Regions from separate parts of the Homo sapiens genome. Here region 1 is linked to region 2. The links are contacts of gene promoters, found by promoter capture Hi-C in human tissues and cell types (Jung and others, 2019). All regions are on one chromosome and are shown on one strand. Each heading gives the region's core, a stretch centred on a gene start or on the middle of the fragment in contact. The rest is flanking DNA. Distances are from core to core; before and after follow the strand shown.

Region 1 (4,900 bases), core at 218-2,717, 88 kb after region 2:
TGTTTGTGGACTGACTATTGGAGGCTGAGGCCCAGGGTCCCTGCATGCTCACCTGCCCGCAGCCGAGGCAGCAGGTGAGACAGGGCCTGCAGTTGCTTGTGCTGGGCAACCCGCTCCCGTAGGGGCTCTAGAGTCTGTAAGGCCTGGGACATGCCCTGGAGCAACCCACGGGCCTGGCTCAGGGCCTCCCGGGTTCCCTGCACCACCTCAATGGCCTGGGCCAGCTGCCACACACCAGTCTGCACGCCTTCCAGGTATGACTGCATCACTGACTGTGGAAAGATGGAGCCATGAGGCTGGGCCAGCCCTGCAGCACAGTCCCAGCACCCGCACCCCCTGCCCCATGCCCACCTTGAGGCGCGATTCCAGGGAGCAGGTACGCTGCACCTCGCGGCTGCGGTACTGGCCTAGCCTGGCCAGCTGCTCCGGCCGGTAGAAGATGCCTGAGGCCCACTTGAGCGCTGCACCCCGGGCCAGCTGCTCTGCCCGCTCCTGCTCTGGCCACTCAGGTCCTGGGAAGGAAGAGCCTGGGCAGCCGTGTAGTCAGGGAGGAGGGCCCAACGACCCCAGTCCCAGCTTTCTTATTTATTTATTTATTTATTTATTTGTTTGTTTATTTGTTTATTGAGATGGAGTCTCGCTCTGTTGCCCAGGCTGGAGTGCAGTGGTGCAATCTCGGGTCCCTGTAACCTCCGCCTCCCGGGTTCAAGCGATTCTCCTGCCTCAGTCTCCCGAGGAGCTGGGATTACAGGCGCGTGCCATCACGCCCAGCTAGTTTTTGTATTTTTAGTAGAGACGGGGTTTCACTATGTTGGCCAGGTTGGTTTGGAGCTCCTGACCTCAGGTCATCTGCCCATCTTGACCTCCCAAAGTGTTGGGATTACAGGCGTGAGCCACTGCGCCCAGCCAGTCCCATCTTTGTTGCCATCATTCCTCCCCTAGTCCACCCAAAAGGTTCATACCAGGGGACAACGCCGGCTGCATCTCATCCTTGGCTGCTGAGTCCATTGTGGGCCTGGAGGAGCCAGAGCTGAGGTGGGCCCGGGGCAAGCAGGCAGAGTAGATGCCCCTGTGAGCTGCTGCCTCTGTCTAAGCCCTTCTGAGAGGAGGAAGGAGGTTCTTCCCGGCCCCCTCGGGAAGTGAGAGGGAGCGGGTGTGATGCGGAGGGCACCTGGGAGGCTTTGCCTGCTAGGTTTCCCAGTCGTGCCCCTGCAGATGTCAAGCGAGACAGAGTGGGCACAGGCCTCCACTGGACCCTGGTCCTGCTCTGAGCTGCACAGGACAGTTTGGTACAGAACTTACCAGATTTGATCAGGCGTCCAGTTCTCCCTCCAAAAATGACCTTGGCCTTGAGAACAGCCCTCTCCCCAATGCAGCTGGGCACGCCTGCCACTTGCTCACAGGGCCTGGGCAACTCCAGCTGACTCCAGCGTGCAGCTGAATTCCTCTCCCCAAGGAAGTCTCTCTCCCACTCCCCACCCAGAAGCCCCTTCTTCCCACCGAGGCTCCTCCCTCCCCAAGGCCATCAACAGAAAGGAAGGAAGCTGAGTCTCTGGCATTTTATTCCCAACAGGAAAGAGTGTCTGCACAGAGGGTGGGGACAGCTGGGCGACACTTCCCTGAGGGGCGGGGGGGTGGGGTGTACTTGTACTCAACCAGTCTTGACCAGCCTACCCAGAACCTCTTAGTGCTCAGGAGAGGAGATAGGGATTTGCTAGACTTGGCCTCAACCTGGGGTGGTGGGCAGAGTGTGCAGATATGGATGCAGACGACATCAACAGCACAGGATGAAAACTGTGTTGGCCAGCCTCTGAGGAGGATGTGTACCTCTGCGGAGGAGTGAGAGGTGGCAGGCTCTTGTGAAGAGGGGTGTGGTGGGGGGTGGTAGGAGAGGGTCATGAAAGCTGTGTTTATCTTTTTTGTTTTAGACAGGGTCTTGATCTGTCACCAAGGCTGGAGTACAGTGGCACCACCATAGCTCACTGCAGCCTTCTGGGCTCAAGCGATCTGCCTGCCTCAGCCTCCCAAAGTGTTGGGAGATTACAGGCGTGAGTCACCGCAACTGGGCAGCTGTGTTTATCTTGAGAGTTATAGGGAGCCAGGGAAGGGACTATAAGGTGGTAATTATTTAGTGGATGTTCAGTCCACCACCCAAATCCACCCTTCAGGACAGAAGTGCTCATTCTCCAGCTGCCAGGAGTGTAGGCTACTGAGATCACACCACTGAGTCTCTCAGTCAATATTGGGGTGCAAAAGCATGGTACCATCGTGTGAACATGAACCCTTCAGAAGTGCTACCCCAATTTCAGAGATCCTAGTGGGATAGGCTGAGGCCTATAATATAATTGCATCTGCTCAATTCTGCTTGTCTTAATCCCTTAAAGGTGTGGATCCTGACCAGGTGCGGTGGCTCACACCGGTCATCCCAGCATTCTGGGAGGCTGAGGTGGGAGGATCTCTTGAGCCCACGAGTTCAAGACTAGCCTGGGCAATATAGTGAGACCCACATCTCTAAAAAACTAAAAATAAATGAGCCGGGCATGGTGGTGCATGCCTGTGGTCCCAGCTACTTGGGAGGCTGAGGTGGGAGAATCGCTTGGGCCCAGGAAGCTGAGACGGCATTGATCTTGCCACTGCACTCCGGCCTGGGCAACAGAGTGAGACCCTGTCTCAAAAAAAAAAAGTGTGGATCCCCAACAAACTTGCTGCAAAACCCTATCTCGAGTCCCATTTCCCAGAGGACCTGATCTAAAAGAAACAATAATAAATAGTAACAATGTTAAAAGTTACAAAATGACCGTATCACACATTCCTGCATGCCAGGAATGACTGAGTGCTTTACTGATATTTACACATAGGTAAACACGTTTGCATTGGCTGAAGTGTTCATAACCCCATAGTCTCTGAGCACTGTACTGTGAGGACAAGACGAGCGAAAGATGAGGCTAGGACCATGGGTGGAACAAGGTGGACAAGGTAGATATAGTTAGTGCTTGCTGTTTGGCAGGAAGTGAGGGATAGGAATAGATGGGGTGACCCCAAGACAGTAGGGCAGCCTTTAGGAACAGGTTTGATGTGGCAGTAAAATGAGTTTGAAATATATAAAAGAATAAATAAAGAGAAAAAAATGGAAAAGGAACAGGTTTGAGGGAGCAGATTGGATTAGTCAGGTAGTGTGGTCTCCTCTCCCAAGATGGGGACTAGGCAGAGTTAGTGATGTTGGGGCAGATTGGCAAGGAAAGTTCCGATGGCGTCCCCTTCTCTACTGCCAGGGCGGCCCACTGACGCCCTTCTCATTCCTCCCCAACTTCATCCCAACTCCCCGGTCTACCCAGGTAGTTTTCGTCTTATTCGGAGGCTGGACATTTGCTACTGGTCCCTGAAGTTTTGCGGCTGCACCCACAGACAGCAATAGCGCCACGTTCCCTGGAAGGCGCACGGGACGGAAGCGGAAGCAGTAACGCTGGCTCCGGCTGCCCGGCGGCCAGGAACGGAAGCGGAAGTGGCGGCGGCGCCGGCCTGGCCTGGCCTGGCTGAGGGGAGGCGGCGGGCGGGCGCGATGGCGGAGGCCGGGCCACAGGCGCCGCCGCCCCCGGGCACTCCAAGCCGGCACGAAAAGAGCCTGGGACTGCTCACCACCAAGTTCGTGTCCCTTCTGCAGGAGGCCAAGGACGGCGTGCTTGACCTCAAGCTGGTGCGGCCTGGGCTAAGGGGAGACAAGGGAGGCTGGTGGACCAGGCCTGGGCCGGTAGCGGGAACCCCGGGGGCGGCCCAGCTGGGTCCTCCGAGAGCCGGCCGCCATCGTGTGCTTTCTCACAGGAGAGAAGCCGGGGGATGTTTCATTCATTCGGCCGAGGCCATCGAGCTACAGCTATGGGCCAGGCTCGGGCTGCAGGTGTTCGTCCTCGTGGCCCTTCCTGGCTGGCGAGGAGAAGAGCTGCCTATGGGACAGAGCTGCGGTCCTGAGCTGCAGTAGCGCCTGGGAGGCACTACAGGGTTGGAATCCAGATTACTCCCTTCCCAGACCACGTCTCAGGGTGGCTGGGGGTACACCCCAGAGTGGGGCTGAGCATTCTCCATTCTCTCTGCCAGGCAGCTGACACCCTAGCTGTACGCCAGAAGCGGCGGATTTACGACATTACCAATGTTTTGGAAGGTATCGGGCTAATCGAGAAAAAGTCCAAGAACAGCATCCAGTGGAAGTGAGTGGGCATAGTGGGAGGGTAGTAGAGTCTCCCACCCAGAAGTGTCGGGCGTGGGGTGGAGGGTGCCGAAGAAGGCAGGGGCCATGGGACCCAGAGTTCTCAGCAGTCCCTCTCAGCCCCACTCCCTGGGCTCAGGGGTGTGGGGCCTGGCTGCAATACCCGGGAGATTGCTGACAAACTGATTGAGCTCAAGGCAGAGATCGAGGAGCTGCAGCAGCGGGAGCAAGAACTAGACCAGCACAAGGTGTGGGTGCAGCAGAGCATCCGGAACGTCACAGAGGACGTGCAGAACAGCTGATATCCTCCTGGCGGTCCCTGCTGGGGGGAGTGGGCAAGGGGCCCTCTGGTTCAACTTGCCCTGAGTCCTGTTCCTCTTGGGAGTTTGTCTTATAGCCACTGGCCATGGCCCAGCCTCAGGCTCCCTCCTCAGAGCCCCTCCCCTTCCACTCTTAGCCTGTGATCCCTCCCCCGGTGGACCTGAGTCCCCAGAACGGTCTCTGAGGGCCTGTGTGTCAGACCTTAGCTAAAGAATTGGGTCTTTTCTGTAGTCTGCCATCTGTCACCATAGGGCATCAGCCATTCTCCTTAACCCTCACACTTTGGCCTACGTCACTCATGAGGACATCTGCAGATGCTTTGCTGGTGAGCAGAGCCTGGGTAGGGGTAAGGGGGTGGGCTGGGCTCAGCCAAAGTCC
Region 2 (4,633 bases), core at 207-2,706:
TGGCATCTAGTGGTAATTTCTGTTGATTCCAAAGAAGACTACTTTAAATATAGGTATCACAAGGTATACAAATCCCCCAGTGTATATTATGGTTTTCAAGAAATCTGGCTTGATTTACCCATCCTGTGAGATATGACCATAAAGTAGTGATGTTGGGAGAAAGAATTTTAAATTACACATCCAAATTAGTTCCATCTTTCAAGCTAGTTGTTTTGGAAATATACAGCCGTTTTGATTGTGCTGGTGTTATATCAAACATTCTTAAGACTCCTGGCATTTTCCTACAACAGAAAAGTAAGCCCTTTTCCTTGAAAGTATGCCTTAAGCTTGACACATGATAAACAGATTCACTCATTAACCACAAGACTTACTGCAAATGACAAAAATGCCTTTAAATTCTGAATTGACACCATTAAGGGAAATTCCAAAGAGTAGGATTCATGCTCTGAGAGTTAATTTCAAAAAATTGAGCAGTAACAGCATGGTTTTAGTAAGTATATCACTTCTAGAAACATAATTGGATATGCTAGCTCGGGGCTGCTTGGTGAAAAATATCTTACTTGATTTATGCCTCATTTGGCAATGAGGAGCTTTTCAATCTATAAACCATTGTATTATCCATAACACATTACCCCAAAACTTAGCAGCTTAAAACAATAAATACGTATTATCCCACAGGTGAGTCACAAATCTGGAAGTAGCTAAGATCAATGGTTCTGGTTCAGAGTTCCTCATAAGGTTAGAGTCATCCTGGGCTACAGTCATCTCAAGGATTGACTGGATGAAAGATCCCCTTTCAAACCCACTAATGTGGTCACTGACTGGCCTCGGTTCTTTGCAGCTTGCTAGATGAAAGGCAGATGTTCCTTGCTAGATGTTGGACAGAGACCTGCTTCCATTTCATGCCCAGCTGGGTCTTTCCATAGGACAGTGCACAGCAGGGTAGCTGGCTTCCCCCAAGGCAAGTGATCCAAGAGAGCGCACACCCAAGTTGAAAGCACAGTCTTTTTTTTTTTTTTTTTTTTTTTTTTTTTGAGATGGAGTCTCGCTCTGTTGCCTAGACTGACTGGACTGCAGTGCTGCAATCTCAGCTCACTGCAACCTCCCCCTCCCGGGTTCAAGCGATTCTCCTGCCTCAGCCTCCCACGTAGCTGGGATTACAGGTGCCCATCAACATGCCCGGCTAATTTTTGTATTTTTCATAGAGACGGGGTTTCACCATGTTGGCCAGGCTGGTCTCAAATTCCTGACCTCAAGTGATTCGTCCGCCTCGGCATCCCAAAGTGCTGAGATTACAGGTGTGAGCCACCATGCCCAGCCAAAAGCACAGTCTTAGAACTGAATCTTGGGCTGCCATATTGTATGTTAGAATCAAGTCACTGGGTCTGGTCCACACTCAAAGGGGGAGGAATATTAAGCTTCATCTGTTGAAGGCGGGGATGTCAAAGCATTTGTGGACATCTTTCTAAACCACCATGGTGATATTACCAAATATACGTAACTGAGTATAAGATACCTTTGGTGTTTTGCCGGGCGCGGTGGCTCACACCTGTAATCCCAGCACTTTGGGAGGCCGAGGCAGGCAGATCATGAGGTCAGGAGATCGAGACCATCCTGGTTAACGGTGAAACCCCGTCTCTACTAAAAATACAAAAAATTAGACGGGTGTGGTGGCGGGCGCCTGTAGTCCCAGCTACTCGGGAGGCTGAGGCAGGAGAATGGTGCGAACCCAGGAGGTGGAGCTTGCAGTGAGCCAAGATCGCACCACTGCACTCCAGCCTGGGCAACAGGGCGAGACTCCATCTCAAAAAAAAAAGATACCTTTGGTGTTTTAATCTAAACATTCTTTAAAGGTAAGATTTCAGTCTTGCAGATTTGAATACATGATTCCCCCTAGATAGCATCAACCCCTTTTCTTGCATCACCATCATATATTCATATATGGCATTTCAGAAATGTTCCAAAGCTAAAAAATGACAGTCACAGGGTGAAATCATGGATGGAAATGGCAGTTTAGTTTGTTTAAATATGGAATATTCTGAAACAGATAAGTCACTGTTTTAGTCAACTCCCAGCTTTTGGTTAGAAAATTTAAGCAACTTAGAATTAAGGTCGTTATTGGCCTCATTCAGATTTCAGAAATGTTGAGGAGATGTTGTAGATAAAAATAAAAGGCCAGGCACAGTAGCTCATATCTGTAATCCCAGCACTTTGGGGGGCTGAGGCAGGAGGATTGCTTGAGGCCAGGAGCTCAAGACCAGCCTGGGCAAGATAGCAAGACCTTCATCTGCACAAAAATATTTTTCTTAATTAGCCAGGCATGGTGGTGCACACCTCTAAGTCCCAGCTACTTGGGAGGCTGGAGTGGGAAGATCGCATGAGCCGAGGATTTTGAGGTTGCAGTGAGCTATGATCTTGCCACCGCACTCCATCCTGGGCCACCAGAGCAAGATATTACCTATAAAAATAAAAATGGAAAATGTTGAAGTTCTATTTTTTTTTTGGAGACTAAAAGTATGGTTATCATTTAGGGGGGGAAATATCCAGTGTCCAAAATAAACATGTTCCCTGCTCACAAGGAATCTACAGTCTAGCTAAAAAGCTGACCAAAGGCAGTAACACTGTTTAAGTTACATTAGAAGTACTGGCTCTTATAGTACATCTATTCTAGTCTGGGTGGTGAATAAAAGCTTCCCTAAAGAGATGTTTTGAGGGTGGGTGCGGTGGCTCACGCCTGTAATCCCAGCACTTTGGGAGGCCGAGGCGGGTGGATCACAAGGTCAGGAGATCAAGACCATCCTGGCTAACATGGTGAAACCCCGTCTCTACTAAAAAATACAAAAAATTAGCTGGGCGTGGTGGCGGGCGCCTGTAGTCCCAGCTACTTGGGAGGCTGAGGCAAGAGAATGGCATGCACCCAGCAGGCGGAGCTTGCAGCGAGCCGAGATTGCACCACTGCACTCCAGCCTGGGCGAAAGAGTGAAACTCCGTCTCAAAAATAAAAAAAGAGATGTTTGAGCTAAGATCTGAAGGATGGCAGACCTTAAGCTAGCTAGAGAAGGTATTGCAGGTAGCTAGCCAATAGCTTGGCAAGTTTGAGAAGCTAAGAGCAGCTGAGTATGACTGGAACAGAAAAGAGGGGGCTGCAGCAGTGAGATGAATCCAGAAGGGCAGATTCCACCCAGCAGAGGGCAGGGTAAGAGTCACAAGCAGTGCTGGACTGGCCTTTCCAACCGTGTTAAATAAAACATTTGGACCATTCCCAAGGGTGAACAGGAAGCCATTGAGGGCTTATGACCTTGATGGAATCGGTGCTTGAGAAAACTCAATTTTGTTTGGGGAGAATAAGACTGGAGTCAGAAACTTGGTCCCACTGATCATACGATATAGTAACACAGGAAGATTAAGGGTAGCTTTGTTGGCATGGAGACATTTCAAAGCTATAAACAGTACAGGAGGCATAATTGACAGTTTTCCCAATTTCTCTTATCAGTCAGGATAGGCTGGTTATGTTGCTTTGTTTTGTTTGTTTGTTTTTTGAGATGGAGTCTCATTCTGTTGCCCAGACTGGAGTGCAGTGGTTCAATCTCTCCTCACTGCAACGTCCGCCTCCTGGGTTCAAGCAACTGTCGTGTCTCAGCCTCCCGAGTAGCTGGGATGACAGGTGCCCGCTAATTTTTTGTATTTTTAGTAGAGATGGGGTTTCATCATGTTGACCAGGCTGGTCTTGAACTCCTAACCTCAGGTGATCCACCCGCATCGGCCTCCCAAAGTGTAGGGATTACAGGCGTGAGCCACCACGCCTGGGCTGGTGTGTTGCTTTAAAACACCAAAAAAATTTATTGGCTTAAAGATTTATGTCTTATATGCTAAATACTCATCAGGGGTTGACCTAGGCTAACAAAGCAGAACTGGAGGACTGCCAGCCATTGTGACAGAACCAAGAAAGAAAACAGGTAATGAAACAGGCATTGGCTTTGAAAACTCACCTGAAATTGATACACGTGACTTCTGTTTTCAATGGACCAAGCAATTCACAGCCACACCCAACTTCAGTTGCGCAGGGAAATGCAACCCTTTTTGCCCAGGAGTCAGAATATTTGTGAATTGCTCTGATGACTACAACAGGCCACTGTTTCAATTATTTTACTTTCCTTCCTTCAAGAAAATACACATCATGGAAGAAAACCTAAAAGTGCCTGCTAGTCAGGCAATTGAGCTAAAATTGTGTGTGGAGACCAGGATCTACGCACCCAGTACACAGTGGTGGGACAGGGACAGAAAAATTGCAGGAAGCACTTGCCTTCAGAAAGGGGAAGAATGAAGTCACCGGTCAGTAACAATTATGAAATGACACTGGAAACCATTTGAGGGCCCTCTGCCCTAACAGAGGGGAGTGTTCTTTGTAAGGCCTATTAGGATGGGTTCCCTGCTCCACCATTTTCCATGACTTTTAGCCCCATCCCTCATTTGCTGTACACATTACCTGTCATTCCTGCTTTCAAACTGGCTTTAAAAAAAAAAATCTAACTGGGCGCGGTGGCTCACACCTGTAATCCCAGCACTTTAGGAGGCTGAGGCAGGTGGATCACCTAAAGACAGGAGTTCAAGACCAGCCTGGCCAACATGGTGA

The links. Contacts are between HindIII fragments. The study calls those that stand out against the background at their distance.
Region 1: the fragment with the promoter of EXOC3L1 here is called in contact with a fragment that was not itself captured in region 2 in 10 of the 25 tissues and cell types used here (adrenal gland, bladder, dorsolateral prefrontal cortex and 7 more).

Annotation. Positions count from the first base shown.
Region 1 is chr16:67,188,669-67,193,568 of GRCh38, forward strand. EXOC3L1 (exocyst complex component 3 like 1) reads right to left here and starts at 1,468. Exons shown (of 14, transcript NM_178516.4): 1 at 1,303-1,468; 2 at 963-1,015; 3 at 352-512; 4 at 53-272. The coding sequence starts at 1,008. It overlaps E2F4 (E2F transcription factor 4), which reads left to right and starts at 3,487. Exons shown (of 10, transcript NM_001950.4): 1 at 3,487-3,694; 2 at 4,093-4,202; 3 at 4,341-4,502; 4 at 4,804-4,847. The coding sequence starts at 3,560. RefSeq lists enhancers at 3,210-4,140, 3,309-3,448, 4,529-4,638 and a silencer at 3,539-3,728. The HindIII fragment of the contact is 11,498 bases long and covers 421-4,900 here.
Region 2 is chr16:67,101,115-67,105,747 of GRCh38, forward strand. No RefSeq gene overlaps it. Among named protein-coding and RNA genes, the nearest start is that of PHAF1, 6.5 kb to the right of the region's middle. The HindIII fragment of the contact is 4,683 bases long and covers 1-3,798 here.